Regions from separate parts of the Homo sapiens genome. Here region 2 is linked to region 1. Evidence: promoter capture Hi-C in 16 types of primary human blood cells and fetal thymus (Javierre and others, 2016). All regions are on one chromosome and are shown on one strand. The core of a region is centred on a gene start or on the middle of the fragment in contact, and the rest is flanking DNA. Distances in the headings are between cores, read along the strand shown.

Region 1 (5,495 bases), core at 1,301-3,800:
GTTCCCCAGTGGTGAGAGGGGTGGAGGTGGAGGGTTGATGCCAGTGTGGTTGCAGAAGCCTGTTTGGGAGGAGGAAGGGACTCCAGACCCTCTCCCCCTATCAGGTAGAATCAGATACCCACCTTTGCTTCACATTTTCTGTGCGTCGCCACCTTGCAGACTAGGGAAGGTAAGGGGAGGAGAGGGGTTAGCAGGGGCCTGTGGGACAGTGGAAGGAATGGCCTTCCCTCATCTCCCAGACCCTGGAACCAGACCCTGGGACTTCCAAGATCCCACCTGGACTGGGCTGGCTGGGGCAGAGGAGCAGGGCTAGGTTTTGAGGGAAGAGTGTGGCAGTGGGGTACTACTGCCCAGGCCAGGGGTAACGTTCCAGGGTGGGTGGAGGTGAGGAGGAAGAGAGGGAAGGAAGACTACCGTCACAAGTCAGGATGGGAAGGTGATGGAGAGTACTGGCTCTCCTGGGTTATGGGAGGTGTCTGTCATGGGGAGCCAGGGCCATCTGAAGGGGGAGGCAGCTGCTTCTTAGCTGCCATTGTGCCTAATCCAGGAGCAGCATATTACATTTGAGATTGTGTGAGCTGGCCTGCTGGAGTTGTGCAACACAGTGGTACTGGGTGGAGGGTCTCAGAGTCACAGGACAGAGAGCCTCACCTCTGCACGAAACGCCTGTCCCATCGATGGTCACCTTACATACTGCACAGACTGGAGGTTTCTTCCGGAAAACCTTCTCCCGGAAGCTATGAGGCTCAGCTTTCCTAGGCTGAAGGTGGAGGGACAAACAGAGGTGTGAGTTCCCAGTGGGCCCATCTCCATCTCCGGGACTGGGCAGGAGCCTTGCCTTAGCACTGCACTGGTTTTCTCCGTCCAGATCAAGCCCTCAAACTTGTAGGACGCACTTGGCCACAGCTGCTTCAGGGCGGTCATGGGGCCTGTCCTCAACTGTGCATGGAATCTGACCCCTTGCGTCACCTTTGCTGGGTCAGCTCCTCCCCAGGGGATCACTTGGGCCCCTCACATGGCCCTGGTGTGTGATGCCCTTGTGGAAAAGCCTCCATGCTCAGGCTTTCCCCCTGGTGTGGTAAGGGTACTCCCTGACTCTTCCCATCTTGTCCTCCCCGCATGGAGACCTGTGTGCAGAGTGAGCAGGGAGGTTCCAAACATATGTGTTGTATGTCAGTCCTGCAGCACCAGACTGAGCCGGCAGGAGTGGCCTCAGCCAGTCCTGCTCCTTTAGCTCCTGCTGTCCCCACGCTCCAGGCAGCTGACATGCCCTCCTCCCCCACGGTCAGAACAACATGTTTACTCATTGTGCACTGAGGCAGCAGACAGCAATTGTGTAATGGGGGTGGTCATGCTGGAGGGAAACAGATAGAAGCCTGTCACTGGGGAGAGATGTTTAGCTGGCTTTGGATGCTGTGAGTTCTCCCCCGACCCCCTGCACCCTGGCACTTGGGATTCACGCATTGAATGAGAAAGGAGTGGACCAGATTCCCTGTTCAGCCCCTCCTGACCCAGAGATGCAGTGAGGCAGGAGCCTGGGATGCCCCCTTATGGCCCAGGCCTATCTCAGTCCCTTCCCCTCCCACTGTGGGTTCTCTCCTCCCATCCTCTGTCTGGGGACAGCTTGTCTCCTTGCCATCTCTCTGTTTTACCCATATTCCCCCTCCTCTGGAGTTCAGACTCCTGCTGTCCTCCTCCCGGGGACCCATCACAGTAGTATCTCAGGTTGTCCTGAGCTGCTGCTTTTGGGGCAAGGCTGGGAAGTTGGGAAAGGGAGTGATGGGGATGTGGGCAGCACCTCTGGTTTCTTGACTGTCCCTGCAACTCTTCTGGGCTGGATCAACTTTGTGGGACCCACTAAGACACTTGGGAGCATGTTGGCATTAGCAGCAGATATGGATGTTGTCAGTGGAAAGCAAACCTCCAGTTCCAAAGCACTCCTGACTCCCTCTCCTCTCTCTTTTTCCACCCTGCCACCCCATTTCCCTCAAACTTCCCTGGGCCAGGGAAGGGGCCTGATGATCTCTGAGCCTGCTGGAGGATACCTGGATAGCGCATGGCAAAGTCCTGCAGTGAGGCACCTGGGGCTTATGTTGGGGGGCCAGGACCTCCTGGGGTTGGCCCAGGCTAGAGCAGGGAAGGTGAGAGGAGCCAAAACAGACAGCAGGACCTACTCTAACCCAAACATCCCCTCACACTACAGCCCTGGCCACTCCGGAGGGGATGCTGGGCCAGGGAAGAAGGCTGAGGAAGCTGAAATTGGGAAGAAGGCCTGGCCTGATTCCTGGTCCCCTCCCCCACTGCCCGCACCTCCACCCCTGCCCCTCTTTTGCCCAGCTGGTGGGCACTCCTACCCTGCTTGCGGCCCGGCTGCTGTCCCTCCTCCCCAGGGCTCTGAGCAGCCTCTCCACAGGGCCGCTGGACTTCATGGTGTTCGGCTGGCTGGGGTGCTGGCCCCAGGGCCTGAACAATGCTGGGGCCTGGCCCGGGGCTTCCTGGAAGCGGCCTGGCGGAGGCAGCCGCTTCCCCTGGGCGGAGGGTAGGCTGTCTGGCTGGTGTGAGGAGAAGCCCGGCCCTGGAAGTGGAGGGAAGTGCAGGCGGGAAGGGGGCAGGTCGCTGCTCCAGGAAGTGGAGGGGGGAGGATGTGGGGGAGGCCAGGAGATCAGATTCCCAGGATCTACCCTGCTGGGAGTGTCAGCCTGTGATCTTTTGCTCCCCCTACTCCCCCAACTCTGGAGTTGTCCCACACCTGGGACACCACACTCTCCAGGGATCTGCAGGGATCCATGGTCTTGAGATTCTGCCCCCACCCCCGGTGGGGCCGGGTGAGAATTCTGGTCTCGGGGCAGGGCTAAAGGGCAAGTGGGGAACAGTGTGTCCCAGCCAGGCTCCAGCCTGAACTCTCAAGCTCTCGAGGGACTTCCGCTGGGGAGGGAGTGGAGCTGGGAACTACTACCAGCAGGCAGGCCCAGGATCCCGAGTGTGTCCTGAGAGTCAGGTAAAAATGGGACTGGGGGCCCCCTTCCTGTCTCAGTTTCACTCGTTATGAAGTAGGAAAAGGAAAGCATGCACCGCCCACCTTTACCCTCAATACACCTTGCAAGGCCAAGTTCCAGCCACAAGACTGCTTTGCTCAGGTTTGGGGAGTAATCCATTCTCCTGCCACAGCCTAAGGCATATGAGGCCCTTCTCCTGAAAGCCCCCAGGTTTCTGCTCCTGACACAGTGCCCCCCACTCACCCATTCCCTGGCTTTGTTTCAGACATGATCTCACAGATCCCTAGCCCTCTTTCCAGCCCTGCAACTTGGGCTCTCTACCCAAGGGCTGCACCCTCCCCCCGCGGCAACCCCGAAGCCTGAGTACTACCTTCATGGCTCTCCTGGGTCTGCTCTCCTTCCTCAGCAGCTGTCCCAGGGCCTGAGGACTGGACAGGAGGTCCCCCCTCCCAACACATACTCCACCCCCATCCATGGGCCTCCGGCCTCCCTCCTGGGAACATGGCCAACTTCCCGTCCTGGGAGTCAAGGGAGGGAGGTGGATGGGGCCTTGAAAAAGGGGGAGTAATCTTCCTAAAAGCTAAGGGGTTAATGGCCTGGGAGTCTTCAGCCCCAAGCTGTGGACAGCAGCCCCTGGGACAGGCTATAGCTGTCACTTGAAAGAATGTGCAAATGTGCCCCTCTCATTTGCATGGTATTTATTGAATGTCCCAGTACTCAGGCAACTCCCCCAGCCCTGGCTTCTCCCACGGAGTCCCTTCTACTTGCTTCCTGCTCCTTCATATCCACCAGGATGGGTTCCCTGGGATGAAGAATCCTGCATTCTCTGGGGTGAGGCCTGCTGTGGGTGCCCACTTGAGACCCTTGCGAGGACCTGACTGGATTGGGCCTAGCCTGACACCTCTCCCTGGAAGCTCCAATTTTCCAGGCCAAGAAATGTGTCCCCAGGATATCCTGGCCAGAAGGTGGCATCTGTGTGGCAGGCCTGGGCTCCCTGCCTGTAACTGGAGAGGAGCACGGGCTCTGTGACCCACCCCCATCCTGCCAGCCTGGCTGTGTCCCAGCACATTCCAGGCCCCCGGCCAGTGTGGGCAACCGGGCCTGGCCTTGTCGAGCCCCCAGCCCTGCTTGGGGGAGATGGGGCAGTGTGACAAGGTGGGCAGTGGGGGTGGCTTTTTTCTGTCCAGTCCCAGCTTCTGCTCCTATGGCACATGGCCCTGACCAGGACTCCTCTACATGCTTCACTCTCCTGCTGCCTCCATAGGGGCTGAAAGTCCCCTCACCTGGAACAGGTCCCCAGACATCCTCTCACCTTCACTGGTCTCACACTCCCCACCCAGACCCAGCAAGGAGGTGCCCAAGCAGTGAGCTCGGTGAGGGGTGGGGTGGTCAGGATCCACTGTGGCTGTGAGTCCCTCCCATCCTGTGGCACTCGCACCTCGGAAGGGAAGCAGGGATGGGATCCCTATGAGCCAGTCCCGAGGGGAAAAGTAGCTCACTTGAGGAGGGCTGGGAAGGCATCACTAGACCCTCTTGGACCCTCACCCTCCTCCCGCCTGTAACATTCCAGAGCCTGTCAACCTCTCCCCCAGCCGGGCCCCCTCTCTCTCCGAAGTCTTGGGTTTGTTTGGAGAAACCCCTCCACCCACACCCCCCTTTCTGGAAATAGCTGTGGTTGGAAGGGAGGCTGGGAGCCCGGCCGCCGCGGAGGAGGGGTAAGGCCCAGGGAAGGAGCGAGGGAGGGCGGCGGCTCTGGGGGTGTTCCCAGAAGGGTCTGGAGGATGGGGGCAGACTGGAGGGGGCCGCAGAGCGGGGCTGGCGAGTCGAATCAGCCTCATCTGTGCCCGCTTACGGCCTCTGTCCCACATGTGAAGCAGGAAAGGAAAACGTTCGCCCGCACCCTGCCAGGCCGGGGCCCGAGCGCCGCTGCCAGCTGCTGCCGGGTCCCGGGCCTGCGTGTGTGGCACGGCGTGCGGCCCCGTGCGCCCCGGGTGCTGGAAGGCGTGGCGGCCTGATCGAGTAGGGCCGCGGCCGCGCCCCGCCCCCTAGTCACTGTCCCGGCCTCCCGCTGCTCCCAGCTCTCCGCGGCCAGCCAGAGCCCCCGGCCCCAGCCCTGGGCCGCGCCCCGCGCCCCGCGCCCTCTCGACCTCCGGCGGCCCCGCGCCCCCTGGCGCCCGCCCCTGGCACTGCCCGCGCGGCCGTGACGCAGAGACCGCCGCCCGCCCAGCGCGGCGCGGCCACTCACCTGCGGGGGGCGCCCGGCCGGGCGGGGGCGCGGCGGGGCGGGGCAGCAGCAGGGGGAGCCGCCGGGCCAGCCCATCCCGCCCGTGCCCGCGCCGAGCGGACGCGGAGGAGGAGGCGGTGGCAGTGGCGGGAGCGGGCGGCCGGGCTCGGCTGGGCTCCCTCCCGCCCCCGCCGCGCCCCGCGCCCGCGCCCGCGCCCGTGGCAGCCCGCTCCTCCTCCTCCTCCCTCCCGGCTCCAATCCCCACGTTCCGCCAG
Region 2 (5,495 bases), core at 1,375-3,874, 140 kb before region 1:
CATCAATCCTCGCTTTCAAGAGGCAGACAGTCCCACTCTCTGAAGGAGGGAGGGACACTTACCCAAGGCTCTTCTCCTTGGAGGACAGTGGGAACTGGAGGGTGAGAGGAAGGGTGGGTCTGTAAGACCTTGGTAGGGGACTAATTCACTGGCGAGGTGCGGCCACCACCCTACTTCATTTTCAGAGTGACACCCAAGAGGGCTGCTTCCCATGCCTGCAACCTTGCATCCATCTGGGCTACCCCACCCAAGTATACAATAAAGTCTTACCTCAGACCACAGCTGTCACTTTGCTTTACCTCATCAAGGCCAAAGCAGACTGTTTATAGCCTGGGCCTCGGGAAAGCTCTTGTCCATCCTCCTCTTGCCACCTGAGGGCAGGGAGAGGTGCCCAAGCGCGAATGTGCAGGAAACTCCCGGGGTGCACCCTGGGACCCAGGAAGCCAGGTCTGGAAAGGGCCTATGAATTCTCAAGTGCTGCGGATGCAGGGGGGTCCCAGGTCAGAGACACTGCATCTGTTGGTGTCTAGCCTCCTTCCGTCCTGCTGCGTGTGCTTTTTCGTCTTGCTCAGAACTGATGCCCTGTTTTTGCTCCTACTTGCTTGTTCCTCTGTGGAGAAGGGGTTTTAAAATGGCTTATAGGGTGCTGGAAGTTGTGGGGTGATTATGTAGGGAGAAAAAAGGAAAACAACTAAAACCAGTATGAAAAAGCTTCCCCAAAGAGGAGATAGTATGTAGAAAAGCCCCATTTTCCTTTTATTTAAATATCCTAAATATATCACGAAGGAACATACACTGCACTTTAATGGTAAAAAGATACAAGTTTATAACATCTTATAAAAACTACCATTTAAAAGTGATCTTGTCCATTTGATATTCCCCTCCCCCATAGCAAAATATTATTTAAAAAAAAAAAAAACAAAAAACAGGGTGGAGAGGAGGATAGGAAGGGGACAGTTGATAAAACCCCAGGGCCACAGCAGAGGCAAAGGGCATCTGGGGAGAGGGTTCGAAGCTGTGGCGGACTCCACTAATGTAACCCTCCAATGTCAAGCCATGGGCGTGATCAGTAGCTAAGTGATGACAAGGCTGTTGGGGGTGGACGGAAAAGACTTGGGGCAAAGCAGACTGTTTATAGCCTGAGCTGGTAGGGCCTGGTGCAGCAGCCTACCCGGAACTGGCACTACTCTTTCCCAGGTTCCCTGACTCTCTATCCTGGTCTCTGAGAGCGTGCCCTACTTCCGTTTCCCCCACTCCAAACACACCTGAGGCATCTTCCAGTGCTAGGCCCCATGCTGGCCAGCAGGGGTCGGGCATTGGGCCCAGGAGCCTCTGCAGCGGTGTGAGTCAGTGGCTTCCCTGGGGTATCCGTGGGGCTCCCGGGCCCTCTGGATGCCAAATCACTCCTTTCACTGCTTTGCGCCTCTCTTCTCACACATGCACTGCCCCAGACATCAGCGCGGGAACTGAACCAACCACCTGCTCCTGAGTTTCCCTCACTGGGTCCTTGGCAGGGGTGGCTCTGCTATGGCTGTTCGCACATACTCTCTGAAGTTCCCTCCCTCCCACCCACCCAGGCAGGAAACCAAGGTCTGTGGGAACCCAGGGCACCTTCTGACCCAGTACACACATTAGTACACATAGGGGCACAGGTCACTCATGTGAGACTTACATGAATCTCTCCACATACACCCCTATCCCAAAGAGACTAGCTGTAAGTGGCAGGGACAGAGGGCTCTCATTTTCAAAAGCATTTTTGGGAGGATAGTTTTCTAAATATTTTAAAATGGTTTACAGGGTACTGGAAGATGTGGGGTGAATCATCCCAGAAGTGAAGGACAGGAAAAGCCCAGATCCAGCAGAACCCTTGAACAGGAAGGGGGCTGGCTCACATGCAGAAAGATGCCCCTGCTTGCAGGGACCACAGGGCTGATCCAAGGACTGAGGTCTAAGTTCTGGACCACATCAAATGGGAGTGTCAGCATAGAGCTGTAAGAGTACATGGCAGCAAACACTCCTCAGCGTCTCCCCAAAAGGATCTCAGATGCTGTCAGGGAAAATCGAATGGGTGCCATGCCTGCTTTCTTTTTCCCTGAAATACTCATACCACAGAGGTATGGACAACCCCCTCCCCAACCCCACCCCTCCAGAATAGGTAACAGCCAGGAATCATTGCTGGTATCCATTCTTTACATTTTCTGGGAAATGAAATCATACTTTCAGGAGTTTCCCATCTCAGACCCTACTGACAGCTTGGCACTCAGGTTCAGCCAGTCTCCATGATTACTAAGACAGTTCCCGTACCCGCCACAGGTCAGGTCAGGTTACAGTGGGGGTCAACCAAACCCCAAAACTTCCCATAAGGATTCTTTCTTTAGCAGAAAGAAAAGGTTTATTTCACCTTAGAAAATTCATGTTCACAAGCCCTGGCTTGGGTTAGAAACATCCTAACCACCAGGCTGTTGAATTCATCTTAAAAAAAAAAACCCTCCAAAACAAAAGCCCTTCTGTTCCCCAAATTGTGTTCTTCAGCTCCTGCTGAGACCTCAAGCACCCTTCATGTTTGGGCAAGAGGAGGCTATTTTCCACTCATCCTCCCTGAAGGTGAGGGCCAGAGAAGGGTTTGGCTCAATAATATGCCATCTCCTGCAAGCATACAAATACATGCATTCATATCTCACACACACTCTCTCTCACACACACACACACACCCGATTACTTTTTTGGGAGTGGACAAGGTGGTGGTATTGGAGCAGAGAGGAGCAAAGAATATGGTTAAGAATGGAACCTACATTAGGTTTCTTCTTTAGTCTTTTCTCTGCAGCACCCCCACCCCCATCCCCCACACTCTGTTGGGTAGGGATGGCCATCAGGAAGCAAGCCGAGATCTTGTTTTTTGGGACCAAAGGACAGACCCCTCCCTACCTCCTCTACCTGAATACAGTGATAGGACTTGGGGAGGGAGAACAGCTCCTACTGCTCAACAGGCATGTCAGAAGACCCCAGATTCCTTTGTTTCTTGAGCAGCTGTTAGCCAACTTGGGACCAGTCTTGGGTTGTTCCTAAGAGGGCACAAGGAGAGAGAACCCACTTTGACTTCCATGACTCCTTGCTCAACACATCTGTCTCACTTTAGGAGTCAATGGCAGCGAGGTAGCCACATACCATCTCCAAGACCGACTCCCCAAAAAAAGAAGAAAAGGGCTTCATGGGCCACTCTCACCCAAGTTTCCTCCTAAAGGCATTTGAGCTGATGCCATCAGGTGCCAATGTGACATGGGCCATGACAACACCCACTGGCACAACTCTTCCTTTTCCCTTGAGGAAGGAAGAGGTGCCATCCACTTTTTGGATCCAGCCCTTGTCTGCTCCACCCCGTTTTTCCTTTTGTCCCTACAGTGTATAAGGAAGCCAAAGTAAGCTCAGCTGCCATTCCTGACCTTATTCTTCCTCAAAAAGGAGGCGAAGTGCAGGATTGTGAAACACTGAGGAGCTACTGCAACTAAAAACCCAATTTTTGGGGAGAGCTGGACCAGCTATAGTCCCTACTTTGGACCAGGACTCTTATGCCTCTGGATTACCTGTATCCACAGTTTACCCGCTGAAGTTGCTTTTGGATAAACAAAAACAAGAACAGAACAAACAAATCCCCTTCCCCAATCTTTTCCATTTCAGCTGCCAGCTGGAGTCCAAGGTTGTGGGAGCCACACTTCAGTCTTGGTCCTGTACCTTGAGTCCCCACCTATGACCTCAGCCAAGGGTCCAGGGACTAGCTCCCCTACCCAGGAATGCTGTAAGAACTTCCCCGAGATACTCATAGTCTCAGATTATTTACAGAGCTGAGGTTCTGGGGCCACTGTCCCCTGATGCACTCTTCTGGTCTCCTGGGTCCACTCCTCCAGGAGTGGGACAGGTTCACATGGGGCGGTGGTGGGACCATCAGACCAGAGGGGGTGTGCTCTTCGGCAGGTTCTTCTGATCACTCCCACCACCCGGGGCCCCTTGCGCCTATAGAGAAAACTGCCCGTCGGAAGTCTTGGACTGGCACCCTTGGCACATCCGTTTGTGTCTGAGTAATCGATCTGTCCGAGAAAAACACTGAGAAGAAAGGGAGGGTTAAGTGCCTGAGCAGACAAACGCAGCTACCTGTTGGCTAACTCATTCCTCTCACAGGAGGCAGATACCACATTCTCCATCCCCTCAGCACGTGCACAGACAGCAGGAGCACACGGTGGTGGAGAATCCAAGCTCTCAGGCCAGACCGCCTGGGGCTGAATCTTGGCTCTATCACTCAGCAGCTGTGTGACCTTGGGCAAGTTACCTAACAGCCCAGAATCTGCATACTCATCTGCAAAACTGCAAAGCGAGGCTAAAAGTACCTACTCACAGCACAGCTGCTTTATTCATCAAAGATTTATTGAGTATCTATCTCAAGGCAGATACAGAGTAGAGAACCAGAGGAACAAAGTCTCTGCCCTCATGGAGCTTTTATTCTAGCGTCTGAAGATTCAGTGTAAGAGTGCAGAGCAAAGCTTGGGACCTAGCAATGCATCCAGGAAGTGTTAGCTATTATCATTTCTCATCTCTTGTTCTTGTCTTGTTTTGGCCCCAGCTCTTACATTCTCATCAGATCAGATACTGACCCCCAGGGCAAAGATTGTATCTCTTCCTCCAAAGTGCATTAGCTCTGAAGTTGGACTGAATCCCAGCTCTGTTCGTGATCTGCGGTGTCCCTGGGAAACTTAACTTCTCTGAATCTCAATTTTCCCATACGTGAAATAAGGACAATACAGCTACCTTAGGGAGTCAATGTGAGGATTAAATAAAATCATCTATGTAAAGTATGCTCTCACAGTGCCTGGCATAGAGTAAGTGATATGGAATGCTATTATTATTATTATTACAATGTTCTAATTGCTGCTCCCCATGATCAGCTGCATAAGGCCAGACAGATGCACTTCACCCCGATGTGTTAACTATTATGGCGAGTAACGCTGGTGGCTCTTTTGTCAGGCAGGAGTGGAGGGTGGCCCTGATTCTTGGGGAAGGAAAAGTGTGTGTGGGGTATTGTAGCAGGGATGAGCCTTACCTGATGACACCGTTCACACTGGTAAGGCTTTTCACCACTGTGCACACGCTTGTGGCGTTCCAGGTGGTACTTCTGGATGAAACGCATATCACATATATCGCATTCAAATGGCTTCTCACCTGGCCCAGGTGGACAGAGAAGTGAATGTGGGGAGGTATGTACAGTAGGGACCTCATTCCAGTTTTCTCAGAAACTTTAACTCTTAGTAATGTGTAGACACCTAAGTGATCATAAATGGGGAGAGGTCCCCAAAGGTGCTGGTCTCAGTGACACCAGATACAAAGCCATGCAATCTCTCTGCTTCATTGACTTATCTTCTTCCTTCATTTCTAATACTTACCCATTAAAATAAACCCAACTAGAGCCACAAACAGACATGGAATACAAGCGATAGACTATTCTCCCC

Evidence for each region. Contacts are between HindIII fragments. The CHiCAGO score rates a contact against its expected background, and 5 or more counts as called.
Region 2: a fragment that was not itself captured here is called in contact with the fragment with the promoter of TNS2 in region 1 in 2 of 17 cell types (M0 macrophages and M1 macrophages); the score reaches 7.0 in M0 macrophages.

The regions. Positions count from the first base shown.
Region 1 is chr12:53,047,120-53,052,614 of GRCh38, reverse strand. TNS2 (tensin 2) reads right to left here and starts at 2,550. Exons shown (of 29, transcript NM_170754.4): 1 at 2,355-2,550; 2 at 652-760; 3 at 123-160. The coding sequence starts at 2,429. All of the region lies in intron 2 of TNS2-AS1 (TNS2 antisense RNA 1), which reads left to right. RefSeq lists enhancers at 3,546-4,389, 4,390-5,234 and silencers at 4,692-5,281, 5,352-5,421. The HindIII fragment of the contact is 14,276 bases long and covers 1-5,495 here.
Region 2 is chr12:53,186,104-53,191,598 of GRCh38, reverse strand. It overlaps ZNF740 (zinc finger protein 740), which reads right to left. Exons shown (of 7, transcript NM_001004304.4): 6 at 5,090-5,208; 7 at 1-4,098. The coding sequence ends at 4,009. It overlaps ITGB7 (integrin subunit beta 7), which reads left to right. Exons shown (of 16, transcript NM_000889.3): 16 at 1-276. The coding sequence ends at 43. Among named protein-coding and RNA genes, the nearest start is that of CSAD, 7.9 kb to the right of the region's middle. RefSeq lists a silencer at 1,220-1,514. The HindIII fragment of the contact is 3,821 bases long and covers 714-4,534 here.